Regions from separate parts of the Homo sapiens genome. Here regions 1, 2, 4 and 5 are each linked to region 3. Evidence: promoter capture Hi-C in 16 types of primary human blood cells and fetal thymus (Javierre and others, 2016). All regions are on one chromosome and are shown on one strand. Each heading gives the region's core, a stretch centred on a gene start or on the middle of the fragment in contact. The rest is flanking DNA. Distances are from core to core; before and after follow the strand shown.

The links. The method cuts DNA at HindIII sites, captures the fragments that hold promoters and counts their contacts. A CHiCAGO score of 5 or more calls a contact.
Region 1: a fragment that was not itself captured here is called in contact with the fragment with the promoter of TMEM78 in region 3 in 1 of 17 cell types (M2 macrophages); the score reaches 5.1 in M2 macrophages.
Region 2: a fragment that was not itself captured here is called in contact with the fragment with the promoter of TMEM78 in region 3 in 1 of 17 cell types (M2 macrophages); the score reaches 5.2 in M2 macrophages.
Region 4: a fragment that was not itself captured here is called in contact with the fragment with the promoter of TMEM78 in region 3 in 5 of 17 cell types (non-activated CD4 T cells, M1 macrophages, monocytes and 2 more); the score reaches 6.7 in non-activated CD4 T cells.
Region 5: a contact is called between a fragment that was not itself captured here and the fragment with the promoter of TMEM78 in region 3, in 1 of 17 cell types (M1 macrophages). The highest score is 5.3, in M1 macrophages.

What each region holds. Positions count from the first base shown.
Region 1 is chr1:228,955,517-228,958,216 of GRCh38, reverse strand. The region is part of intron 1 of LOC105373143 (a long non-coding RNA gene); the gene reads right to left. Among named protein-coding and RNA genes, the nearest start is that of LINC02815, 200 kb to the left of the region's middle. RefSeq lists an enhancer at 128-988. The HindIII fragment of the contact is 1,790 bases long and covers 537-2,326 here.
Region 2 is chr1:228,876,183-228,878,882 of GRCh38, reverse strand. No RefSeq gene overlaps it. Among named protein-coding and RNA genes, the nearest start is that of RHOU, 140 kb to the right of the region's middle. The HindIII fragment of the contact is 621 bases long and covers 1,017-1,637 here.
Region 3 is chr1:229,248,385-229,251,084 of GRCh38, reverse strand. It overlaps TMEM78 (transmembrane protein 78), which reads right to left and starts at 1,449. Exons shown (of 1, transcript NR_172940.1): 1 at 1-1,449. All of the region lies in intron 1 of LOC102723935 (a long non-coding RNA gene), which reads left to right. The HindIII fragment of the contact is 6,724 bases long and covers 1-2,700 here.
Region 4 is chr1:228,803,948-228,806,647 of GRCh38, reverse strand. No RefSeq gene overlaps it. Among named protein-coding and RNA genes, the nearest start is that of RHOU, 70 kb to the right of the region's middle. The HindIII fragment of the contact is 5,276 bases long and covers 1-2,700 here.
Region 5 is chr1:228,849,036-228,851,735 of GRCh38, reverse strand. No RefSeq gene overlaps it. Among named protein-coding and RNA genes, the nearest start is that of RHOU, 110 kb to the right of the region's middle. RefSeq lists an enhancer at 2,016-2,700. The HindIII fragment of the contact is 1,051 bases long and covers 888-1,938 here.

The sequences.
Region 1 (2,700 bases), core at 182-2,681, 290 kb after region 3:
GCATTCCTCCTTGTGGGATAATATGACATTCTGGGCAGTACATTTCTCGGGGATTATTGTATTTTTCAGGTCTTTGGCCTAATGCTTGAGAACATCAACTTAAGTCATGAATAATGGACCTGAAATGTATTCTCCGTGGGCACCCACTGCTTAGGAGCTTCAGAACTTGCCCCGGTCCTCGAATGCAGTATTTCTCAGTTCCCACCATCCAGTTGGACCTAAATAAAACCATCCCTTAACCTAGGAAGCACATGTACATTTTGTTTTGTAGGTGGGAGAAGAGCACACTACTGGAAAAATCTGAAATCATTTAGGCTGTCAGGACAAGGAACTAAGGAAACAGAACTCCAAACTTAATGAGCATTTTCTTGGCCACCACAGCAAAGAGCTAGCCGAGGATCGGGTAACTGTCACCTGTGCAGCGCTTAAGCAGATCTTCAGTTTCCAGAATGGGAAAGTCCCCAGAGAGTCCTGAGGCTGCCAACACCACTGCGAAGATTGGTTCCAACTGGGGCTTAGAGGATCAAACAAAAGCTTCTTTCCTCCCAGTGGCACTGATGCGTCGTGCCTTCTCTGAAATTCTCCTGTCAGCTTCCAGAGAGACTCCAAGTCATGGTGCAAGGGTGAGGATAGAAAACTAGTACAGGCCCCAGCTGGTAGCACCAAGGGAAGAGGTTGAACACTACTGTCTAGAGCATGGACTCAGCCCTGGCCATCGCATTCAAATTCTGTGATCTTTGAAAGTTACTTACACTTTTTGCACTTTAGTTGTCTCATTTGTAAAGTGGGGAAGACAATGCCTTTTTAAAAATTATGTTATCATGAAGAATAAATAACCTTATACATACGAAGTAGTCAGCAAACCCTGGCCCATAGCGTAACCGCCCAGTGGGTTCACTTTGCCCACTGCTTAGATAGAGCCGATTTATCAAGACAGGGGAAATGCAATAGAGAAAGAGTAATTCATGCAGAACTGGCTGTGTGGAAGACCAGAGTTTTATTATTACTCAAATCAGTCTTCCCGAGCATTCCGGAATCAGAATTTTTAAGGACATCTTGGTGGATGTGGGGAGGCCAGTGAGCCAGGAGTGCTGATTGGTCAGGTCAGAGATGAAATCATCGGGAGTCAAAGCTGTCTTCTTGCCCTGAGTCAGTTCCTGGGTTGGAGCCACAAGATCAGATGAGCCAGTTTATCGATCTGGGTGGTGCCAGCTAATCCATCAAGTGAAGCATCTGCAAAATATCTCTGCAAAACAGCTCAAGCACTGATTTTAGGAATAGTTTAAGGAGGGTCAGAATCTTCCGGTGGCATGACTCCTAAACCATAATTTCTAATCTTGTGGCTAATTTGTTAGTCCTACAAAGGGAATCTAGTCCCCAGGCAAGAGGAAGGTTGATTTTTGTGAAAGAGCTATTATCGTCTTTGTTTTAAACACTAAACTATAAACTAAGTTTCTCCCAAAGTTAGTTCAGCCTGCATCCAGGAACGAGCAAGGATAGCTTGGAGGTTAGAAGCAAGACGGAGTTGGTTAGGTCAGATCTCTTTCATTGCCTCAGTTACAATTTTGCAATGGCAGTTTCAATAGTAAGTGTCAGGCCTCTGAGCCCAAGCTAAGCCATCATATCCCCTGTGACCTGCCACGCGTACATCCAGATGGCCTGAAGCAACTGAAGATCCACAAAATAAGTGAAAATAGCCTTAACTGATGACATTCCACCATTGTGATTTGTTTCTGCCCCACTCTAACTGATCAATGTACTTTGTGATTTTCTCCACCCTTAAAAAGATTGTTTGTAATCTCCCCCACCCTTAAGAAGATTCTTTGTAATGCTCCCCACCCTTGAGAATGTACTTTGTGAGATCCACCCCCTGCCCACAAAACATTGCTCCTAACTCCACCGCCTATCCCCAAACCTACAAGAACTAATGATAATCCCACCATGCTTGCTGAGTCTCTTTTTGGACTCAGCCCGCCTGCACACAGGTGAAATAAACAGCCTTGTGTCTCACACAAAGCCTATTTGGTGGTCTCTTCATATGGACACATGAGACAGTAAGTGGCTTAGTAAATAATAGCTATTAGTAATACTGCAGCATCAAAACAAGAAACTGTAAAACATGTTAGAGTCACAGAAGCATTGGATCTTAGACTGGAATAAATCTTAATGGTCATCTAGTTCATCTCAGTCCAAAACTCCCTGGCCCTTTAGAAGAGTGTTGCTGCCCTTGCCCACTCAGCACTGCTCAGGCCTTTTTCTTTCTAATCTGCCAACTCCTCCACATGCCTGGGATAAAACCACAGGCTTGGACCATCCTACTCAAGCTTGAGGAGATAACCCTTTTGCAAGCAGAGAGTGTGACTCACATGGCTTTATGTACCCTGGCTTCTCCAGAATTATTACATGTGCAGTCTTTATCACATTGCAGGAGTTCAGACTATGACTCCCCTAAAATGTGCTTCTTTCGCATAAGGATTATTTGAGCTGATTATTTTCAGAAACTTTAGACACAGGAGAAACTGTAAAAATAGTGCAGCAGTTACCCTTTGGTAGAGACCTTACATGTATAAAGAAGATCTCCATTTGTAAGGGTGTCTCCCTGTCTGTACAAGGAAGAAAAGAATGACTCTAAGTTACTGAGTCTTACCAATGGAGAAGGCACTGACTTAAATTTACATAACAAACCTTACCCTTGTTTAC
Region 2 (2,700 bases), core at 78-2,577, 370 kb after region 3:
GTTCATGTCCTTTGCCTACTTTTTCATGAGGTTATTTGTCTTTTTTTTTTTTTTTGTAAATTTGTTTGAGTTCTTTATAGGTTCTAGAAATTAGGCCTTTGCCAGATGAATGGTTTGCAAATATTTTCTCTTATTCTGTAAGTTGTCTGTTTACTCTGTTGATAATTTCTTTTGCTATTTTTTTATTCCTCTCAGACCTGCAGCTTGAATCCTAGATGGAGAGATACTAGTCATGAGTATAAGAAAATGACTAAGAATAAAAGATAATGGACTTAGGATGCGAAAAAAACAGTGTGGAAAATCGGAGCTAAAGGGACTGGGTGGATGTGATGTCACCATGCCTGGGAATAAGGGTCAGCTTCAGGAAGCAGGCAAATTGAACAGGGCCTTGAGAGGAGCATAAGACTGACCAACCACAGCTTCCAGGCCTCCTAAGAGCCCGTATTATTTGGTAGGTCTTCAGTTTTCCTCCAGCGGCAAAGGGACTAGAGACTGTATCACCTCTCAGGTGTGGTGCTGTGTGATGGACGCTTGGACGAGAAAGGGAAGGCAGGAGGCTTCTGAGACAGAGTCGACCATTTTTGGTGATTGATGAGAACCCAGAGAAGTCAAAGAAGTAAGAGTCCCAGGCCAGATTCCTTCCTTTCCTAAGTGCTACATTCATAAGAAATAAGGCCGGGTATGGTGGCTCACACCTGTAATCCCAGCACATTGGAAGGCCAAGACAGGTGGATCACGGGAGTCAGGAGTTCAAGACCAACCTGACCAACATGGCGAAACCCCGTCTCTACTAACAACACAAAAATTAGGCAGATGCCTGTAATCCCAGCTACTCGGGAGACTGAGGCAGGAGAATTGCTTGAACTCAGAAGGTGGAGGTTGCAGTGAGCTGAGATCCTGTCACTGCACTCCAGCCTGGGCAACAGAGCAAGACTCTGTCTCACAAAATAAAAATAAAAATAAATTCATAAGAAATAGAATTTCTCTTTTCTTCCATTTTCCTCATCATTTAAGCTTAGTGATGGATTCATTTTAAGGTGAAGCACAATGCTAGGATATTGGTTTTAAGAAAGTCACATCCCTGCTATGTCGTGATTCTAAACTGAAGGCCTACCAAATGACACCGTTTTCCTCATTCTTAGACCTCTTATAACTAACACAAACTCATGAAGTCATCAGAATTTGTGCAGGAAATTTTTGGCATAGGTAGCTGTAGCTGCATTTATCTATGGTTTATATGTTAATATTTTGGAACTAAAAGTAAACTTAGAGGGAACAGCTAATTCAACAATTCTTCCAATCAAAGCCAAAACCAAGGAAAGATCTCATAACTTGTTTGATTAGCAAATAAAAAAGAAAGCAGACCCCCCAACTGCTTATCAAACATTTTAGCAATTTATGTCTTTTTAGCAGAAAAACAAGGATTAAGAGAAAGTATAAGAATCAAGAGACAGACATTTGGTTGGGATAAACAAAAAGTCACTATGAGGTGATTATGACAATGGTGATGGTGATCATTCATTTATTCCCTTAAAACTATTTATTTTTATTAGACACCTACAGAGTGCAGTCACTGTTGCAGGCACCAGGGTAACAGTAATGAGGAAAGCACTCAAAGACTTGGTCCTCATGAAGCTTACTTTCTAGTAAGGAGGACAGATTTCAGAGTCACATACACACCTATGTGGGCATACACAGGAAGCATAAGTGTCAAGTGGTAGGTGCTAAGAAGTGCAGAGATACCGTCAAGTGTAATGAAGTTGAAGATGATGGTTTTGTTGATAATGACGGCAGTAAGTTTAAAGAGTTGAGTAAACTCCTAAGGCAGTACCACTTAGATGGACTACTGGCTCATGTGCAAAGACTGGCTGTTCTGGCTCTCATGGCCCACGGGTTCTGGGGGACTACACTTCTAACAGCTCCTCCTCTGCATCTGAACCATTCTGAAAGACACAGAAAAGGTGGAGGCTGATCCCAGTAGTCCTGCCAGGGACCTAGCCAGGGGCTCAAGGGCTTAAAGGAAGGGCCTTTCTCATGTTCTTGTTATGCGCCTGATGCCTCCGGGTCCTCCTTGCTGTAGGATGGCTCTGTGATGATCACACGATCTCCCAGTCCAGGGCAGACCACAACTAACTTATGCTAGCGTGCTGCAGACAAGGTTCCTGCAAAGTGTGGAGGTTCATTGAAAATGGCCTCAATGACTTCTAAGAAGTAAATGCTGTGATTCTACAACTGAAAGATAAACCACTGTGACCACTATAAAACAAGGCCCGGTATCTCTTACAGCCCTTCCACTAAGAGTGGGGGGGTCTACGTGTGACCCTCCTGAGTCCTAGCTCTCTGAGGCTCCTTAGTCACTTGAGTACGGCAGAAGGGGATGCTTCCTGAAGAAGCTGGTGGCTGCTGTTTCCTGTCTCCTGGAATCCAGCCATCATGTTGTGAAGTAGCCCAGCAGCCACAGGGAGGGGCCCCTATAATGGTTCTAGTTGATGGCCCAAGTGGGATCCCCCAGCAACAACCCAGTCATGTTGAACGGGTGAGCCCAGAGATGACTGCAGCCCCAGGACTAGTCACCCCTCAGCCTCTATCCATGGAGCAGAGACAAAGAAGCTGTCCTCGCTGAACTCTGCCCAAATTGGAGATCTGCAAGCAAACTGAATGTTGTGTTCTTAAGCCACTAAGTTTTAGGTGGTTTGTTAC
Region 3 (2,700 bases), core at 200-2,699:
AGAGAAAGAAAAAAAACCCAGAAAGCCATTTTTTGATCCTCAAGAGATCAGATGAAGTTTCTATGTGAAGCATTGAGAGATCTTTATTTTATGATAAGGCTAAATGCCAGATTGTCAAAAAAAGGGTCAAATATAAACTTCTTTGCATAATACGTAAATCCATTAATAATCTGACCCTTTCTTTTCCAATCTCCTCTACTAGCAACCTCCAGTATATTCTGGTTACCCTGCTCCAAAAATGCTCTAAACATGCCATGCCTGTGTACTACTTCCCCATGGTTTATTCTCCCTCTCCATTTCTGGCCAACTCCTACTCATCCTTTAAAACTCAGCTTGAATGTCATCTCCTCTACAAAGCAGGTGGTTGTAGTCACCTCTATTAGTGTTCCCATCTTTTGTATATACTTCCTATGATTCTGATCACATTCTGCTTAATATCTTATCACATCCTGTCATGTATATGCTCATCTCCTCTAGCAGTCAGTTTTTTAAGGGCAGTAAACCTGGGTGCTTTTTTGTTTTTTGCAGTCCCAGTCCCAGCAGTGCTGAGCAACAGAAGAGATAAACACCACAGTTTTTAGGAAGTTCAGTTGCATAAGAGATGACAGTAGAGGCCCCTGCATGTCTATTGCAGACAATTACTTACGGGCTCACAAAAGAATATTCTCTGGTTTTGCCCAGTGGGATGCACTGTCCTACAAAGGCTGAAGATTTTGGGGAGGCAACAGACACACCAAACAGACTTCCTTTTCTATATCTTTCAGTTGCTGACACTATTAAGAAATAGAGACTGGGCATGGTGGCTCACACGTGTAATCCCAACACTTTGGGAGGCCGAGGTGGAGGATTGCTTATGACCAGGAGTTTGAGACCAGCTGGGCAACATAGTGAGACCCCATCTCTACCACATACACACACACACACACACACACACGCAAATTAGCTGGGCGTGGTGGCAAGCCCCTGTAGTCCCAGCTACTCAGGAGGCTGAGGTGGGAGGATCACTTGAGCCTGGGATGTTGAGGCTGCAGTGAATCATGATTGCACCATCGCATTCTAGCCTGGGAGACAGAGCAAGACCTTGTCTCAGGAAGGAAGGAAGGAAGGAAGGGGAGAGAGAGAGAGAAAGAAAGAAAGAAGGAAAGAAAGGAAGAAAGAGAGAAAGAGAGAGAGGAAGGAAGGAAAGAAAGAAAGAAAAGGAAGTAGAGAAAGAAAGGAAGGCAGGCAGGCAGGCAGGAAGGAGGAATTCCCTTCTGATTTGGTAGGAATTAGAAGATTCCTCTACTCTATCATTGTCATTGTAAAACATCTCTAGAGTAGTTGTTTGAGGCACACAAACTCCTTTCCAACATGATATTACAATACCCAGATTTCTGGTGTCAAGCCACATGTCAGTATGAACGGTCCTGCACAGATGACGTGTTCAACTTTCATGGTTGTCTCTACCTTCCATTCCAGCCTGCTCCGCCTCCTGGATTTTCCAGAAACCTCTGGCTTCTCCCTTCTTCCTCAGGGGTGTGTGGCTCTCTGGTGGGGAATTATCAACCAACATAGTGGGAGATGCTGAAGCCCGAGCGATGAGCAAAGTGAACACAGAGCACTGGGAAGCTGAGGTGCAGATGCACGAAGGGAAGAAGCTGGGAAGAAGCTGGAGGAAAGGAGTGAAGGAAATAGGATGATGGAGCCAAAACTGGGACTAGGGAGGCCAGACCTGGGAAAGAAGGTGGGAGCTGAAGTGGGGATCCTGAGGATGTTAACTGAAAAACCACGAGATCTATAAGCAACTCTTTAACCGAAAGGAGAGACTCTGCTGGTAGAAGTTTACCTGTTGGGGGTGACTCAGGCAGAGCTAAGCTAGCCCTGCAATGACTCCAAATGATCCTGCAAGGTGGGGGCAGACACAGGAGAGGAAAACAGCCCCATCCTGGCCTGCTGGTCAAAGCACACACGTGTGCTCTCTTCTCTCCCTCCCTCTCTGCTCTGTCTCTCTCTCTCCCTCCTTTTCTCTCTGTTTCTGTCTTTCTCTCTCTGTACCTTGGCAGCTAACCTGGCATTCTGAACTCCACCCCCAACCCTGTCGGTGCCTCTTTTGACCCTGAGTAGCTCTTTTCTCTCTTTCCCTACTTCCTACTTCTTACCACTGCCTGGAGAGGTTATTCTTAGCCACTTGCTGAACAGTTACTTGTTTCATTTAAACAAACAAAAAAGAAACAAAACCTGCCTAATGTGGCAGTAGACTTGAATTTAAAGAAAATGTATTTCAAACTGGGAAGAAGAGAAAAATTTTTTCTTAAATGCAACTTATTTTCATTGATTCTGAAAGCAATACATATTTATTGTAGAGAGAAATTGGATTGTACAGAGAAGCACAAAGAATAAAATTATAGTTATCCATTATTCCATGGTCAGAGATAACTGGAATTAACATAAGGATATTGCTTTGGCTTGAATGTTTGTGTCTTTTCCAAAATTCATGCTGAGGCCGGGCGCGGTGGCTCACCCCTGTAATCCCAGCACTTTGTGAGGCTGAGGCAGGTGGATTGCCTGAGCTCAGGAGTTCTAGACCAGCCTGGCCAACATGGTGAAACCCCAACTCTACTAAAAATACAAAAAATTAGCCAGGCGTGGCGGTGCATGCCTGTAATCCCAGCTACTCAGGAGGCTGAGGCACAAGAATCGTTTGAACCTGGGAGGCGGAGG
Region 4 (2,700 bases), core at 101-2,600, 440 kb after region 3:
AGTCCTAGCACTACTTTTCTTCCTTCTTTCTGTCCCAACAAATCTTGCCTCCAGGTCCAACTAATGCTACTGACATTTCCGCAACTTAAACCATCCTGTTAGTGAAACATTAAGAATGAAATTATATGATGCCAGAGGCTTGCTTCGAAATAAACAGCAGAAGCTAATTGTAGTGGGTGAGTGCATGGAGACCACAAGAACCATGATTAAAACTGGATGATGTATATATGGGGCTTTATCTTACTAGCCTTTCTACTTTTGTATGTTTAAAATTTTCTGGCCAGGCGCAGTGGCTTAAGCCTGTAATCCCAGCACTTTGAGAGGCCGAGGCGGGCGGATCACCTGAGGTCAGGAATTCAAGACCAGCCTGACCTAGGTGGAGAAACCCCGTCTCTACTAAAAATACAAAATTAGCCAGGCGTGGTGGTGGGTGCCTGTAATCCCAGCCACTCAGGAGGCTGAGGCAGGAGAATCACTTGAACCCAGGAGGCAGAGGTTACAGTGAGCTGAGATTCCACCAGTGCACTCCATCCTGGGCAACAAGAGCAAAACTCCGTCTCAAAAAAAAAAAAAAAAAAAAAAAAAAAAGAACAAAAAACTTCTGTAATAAATATTTTTTTTCAAAAACACACACGTCAGGTTTCCTGATTTTTGTTTAGGCAACACTGCAAACTCCCCATAGATATTTGTTCCATGAATGAACGGATGCTCCCCTTTCTGGAAGTTCTTCTTGCCCTGCTGAGATTCCTTAGCCTCTAAGGCCTGGTGCAAACATCACCTCATCTGTGCAGCCCTATCCTAGGCTACTCTCTCCTCTTCACTGTCCCGTCACGTTATGATACCATTGCTATTGTATTTATCACATGGATTGTCATTATCAAGTCATCGGCTCGTCACTGATCATCACTGCATTGTCATCATTAAATTCATTAACTATTATCTGTCTGTCTCACCAAAACCTTCTGAATTCTGGGAGAATGAGCACCATTTCTCAGCCACTTTCTGCCGCATTTGCCTAGCACAGTGCCTGATATTACAGACAACTGTGAATAAATGCCTGACTTGAAACTGGCTTAAAAGCAAAACCTAGGGTTTAATTGGGACTTATAATCACTTGGTCCAGTCGGCAGACATGATATGTTTGTAGTAGCAGTGAAATTTAGAATTATAGTGCTGGACCTAGAAGCCTTGCTGATTTAGTTATAGACATTGAAATGATGCTAAAAGTCAATCATCCAAAGGAAAGGAAACAGCGAGTAAGAGAGTCAGTCAGCCAAGCAAATGTCAACTGAAAGAGGAGAGGGGGCTCTCTGAGTTCTGGGAATGGATAACGTCATGAAAAAGCACAAAGAGTAAAGACAGACAGAGCACAGGCTGAGTACATTATCTTTTTAATTGTTTCAGGGAACGCTTCATGCCAGAGTGTTCCAGTAAAATGCATAAACGCCTCTCGAGGGATATGGAGGCTTGACCTGGTCGTTTAGCATTTTAACAGCTCTCACTGTGCCTTCCAGGAAGCGGTGCCTCTGTCTCCGTCTGTGGGTTTGGGGCACTCAGATTTCATGACCATGAGCTCCTCAGAGCCTCCGTGCAGACACCAGCCTGCTGTGAGAGAGACTCAAACAGGTTCCTTCTCATATGACAGGTAGAGAAACTGAAACCCAGAAGTTCAGAGTTCCAGGAAATCTCCTGCAGCTGACCCCAAGTACCTGTGGTGAAGGCTCTTGGCTCACAGGGACAGGCAAAGGAAGACAAAGAAAGACTAGCCTGAGACCAGCATGCATGTTCGCAACTAAGCCCATCAGTCAGCTCCTTGCTCAGTGCTTTCTCCTTCCTACCAAAGAGCGGGAAAGCTCACCTCCACAGCAGGTCCAGCTCACCTCCACAGCAGGTCCAGCTCACCTGAGGTGGAGACAAGGGACCCAGGCAGGACTTGGGCACCCACAGTGGCTACTAGGGTGAAGAATGAGAGGGGTGAAGAAGAGGAAGAAAAGAGGGAGGAAGGGGGGTGTCTGCTAGCAATGTGACCTTGCATCTGGCCAGGTAGGACTGTGCTAGACCCTAAGGAGGAAGGAGAGAAGGCAGCCTGTGTAGCCCCAGCTGTGGGCAAAGCACAGGGTACCTCAACACCTTTCCACCCTCCACTGCTCTCCTTACCCCCAAATCTCAGTCGCCATGTTTCTAGACTCTGATTGAGGGTAGTTATCTTTACTTCAGCTTACTTTATGTTAAGATGAAATATTTGATATACACAATGGAATATTATTCAGCCATTAAAAAGAACAGAATCCTGTCATTTGCAGCAACATGAATGGAACTGAAGGTCATTATTTAAGTGAAATAAGCCAGGAACAGAAAGACAAATATCACATGTTTCTCTCTCTTATGTGAAATCTAAAAAAGTGAACTTCATGGAGATTAAGAGTAGAATGGTGGTTACCAGAAGCTGGGAAGGGAAGAAGGGAGGGGAGGATGAAGAGAACTTGGTTAACAGGTAAAAACACACAGTTAAATAGAGGGAATGAGTTCTAGTATTCAATAGTACAGTAGGGAAATTATAGTTTACCATGATTTATGGTATATTTCAAAATAGCTAAAAGAGAATTATAATGTTTCCAACACAAAGAAAAGATAAATGTTTGAAGTGATGGATATCTCAGTCACCCTGATTTCATCATTACACGTTGTATACATGTATCA
Region 5 (2,700 bases), core at 164-2,663, 400 kb after region 3:
AGTCCCTCTTGGAAACATACACTTACCATGTAAGCCATGTCGAATGTTATCGCACACTTGAACCTAATGTTGGCTTCACACAGCGGAAGCCCTGGCATAGAAATTGTCTTTAAATCCTCTTTCAGATTAATTGCATCAAGAGTAGCATTCCTTGTGTAAGAGGATAGAAGGATCCTCCCAAAGGACTTAAAAACCTAACAAGAAATCTTTTAAATGAGTAGGAGGCTGTCAGAATTGTATATTTGATGTCACAGCACATTTTATGTTTCACATCCCAATCCTGCTGCCCAGGTTGAGGCATCCTTTGCTACAGATGGCGGGAACACAAGCAGAGGCCGCCAGCCTGGAGTCGCTCCATTACTCTACTGTAATTCTTCCCTGGGGTGCCGCACTGCAAGGCCACCCTGAGAAAATCTGACAGATCCATGTTATGGAACAGATCAATTCACATTTTCAATGCAAAGGGATTCCCAGGAGGATTCATTTAAATAGAAATTTCCTCTAGTGCCTTTAAACGGATTCTATTTACAAAATATCCATAAACAGCAAAATCTCAGGAACCCATTTTTGTAAGTGAAATGAGGCTGACTGCTACTCAGTGTGCATTTCAGAGTCCTTTAAAAGATCCAGTGATAACTGGAGAGGATGAAGTAGCCGGAGAGCTTTTAAAATGATTCCAAAGAAGGACAATTGATCTGCCAAGAAAGGCATTCTGGCTATGAAGCCTGTAGGAACAGGCGATCTGTAGGCTTCACTAAGGAGGTTAGGCTTTGGAATATCTGATTCCCACCTCTCCAGTCTCAATACCTGTCCCCAGTTCCTCATTCATGCAGCCCAGGCAGACAAGGCCTCCTTGGGTCTGGTTGCAACAACCGACTGTCCAAGCTTTCCTAAGCATAACTTCAGCCCAAGCCAGTTAATATGAAAACCAGAAAAAAAATGCTTTTCCCATGAAAGTGCAGTTTTATTAAAGTAAGAATGTAGGTATGACTAAGGGAGGAGACCACTCCTCATAGTGTCTTACGCCCAGTTTCTGGGCGTTTCTCCAAAGAAAGAAGAAGTAAAAGCTAAAAGGCAGAAATGAAATCCACAGACAGATAGCCTGGCACACACCCTGGTAGTTAAAAATCAACCTCTGACCTAACTACTTGTGTTATCTATAGATTCCAGGCATTGTATAGAAAAGCACTGTGAAAACCCCTGTCCTGTTCTGTTCCATTCTAATTACCGGTGCATGCAGCCCCCAGTCACGTACCCCCTGCTTGCTCAATTGATCACAGCCCTCTCATGCAGACCCTCTTAGAGTTGTAAGCCCTTGGACAGGAATTGCTCACTCGGGCAGCTCGGCTTTTGAGATGCAAGTCTGCCGAAGCTCCAGACCAAATAAAGCTCCTTCCTTCTTTAACCCAGTGTCTGAGGAGTTTTGTCTGCAGCTCGTCCTGCTACATGACTACAACTTATTATCTTTGCAGTGACTAAGAGTTGTCATGCATTCTAAAGTAAATGCACACCTCAAGAATCTAAACATAACAGAGGAAAAGAGAACTACTCTACTGCCATTCTCAGACACATACTCAGAATGAAGGGTTTGCCTTAAAAATGTAACTGAGAGAGATAGGGAGAGATTTGTTAAAAGATACAAAATTACAACTAGATGAGAGGAATAAGTTCTAGAGTTCTATGCCAATGTAGAGTGACTGTAGTTAACAGTAATATATTCTATAGTCTCGAATAGCTAGGATATTGAATGTTTCCAAAACAAAGAAGTAAATGTTTGAGATTATGGATATGCTAATTACCCTGATCTGATCACTATACATTATAGGTATGGAAACCTCACTATGTACTCCATGAATATATACAATCGCTATGCATCAATTAAAGTATTTAAAAATGTAACTGAGTTCATACAAACAGTGACTTGGTCATTTCCAAGCTTTGGCTGCCTGGTCTTTGTATTGCTGAGGAAAAAGTCTTGAAGAATTGCATGACTCCATAAAAAGCTGGTTTCTTATTCCTGGGAGAGCCCAGGAGGTACAATTTTGAAAAGCAGATGAGAAGGATGGGCTGATTTGTATAAGAGTGGAAAGTCCCAGCTCTGTATGCTGGGAGCAACCTTGCAAATTAGAAAAAAGATTCTCTTCTCCACATACGCTTTATCACCGTACGGACTGAAGCTGTCTTCTCAGCTTTTGCAGAAAGGCAGTCTGAAATCATGGGACACACACTGGCACTAGAATGGCTGAGCCCCAAGCTCCAGTGTGAGAGCAGGGTGAGTGATTTCACACCCACAGCAATTCCGAGCGCATGTCCCACCTGCTTGGCCTGTGGTGATGATTAAATGAGACAATGCTTTTTGCATGTTTAGCACAGAACCTGGGGACAATACACTCGGTCAGAGACTGCTGCTATTAATAGGTGGTGTTATTAATAGGAACTTGCCCCTGCTAATCTTCACCTGTTATCTGTTATTCTTTAATAGGACTGCAGCTTCAGTTCCTTTGCCTTTCACTTACTTTGAGTGGCCTGTTAATTGCCTTCCTGCTCACCTAATTGTTCAAACAAAAGAGCCCTTTGAACCTGCACCTTTGTAGCAGGAAAGAGAAGAGCTTATGCTCCAGGCAAGCTCTTCTCCTGGAGGGCCTTGCTGAGACCAGCCTTGAGCAAGATCACTGTGATTCCCACCTCAGGCCTCCACAC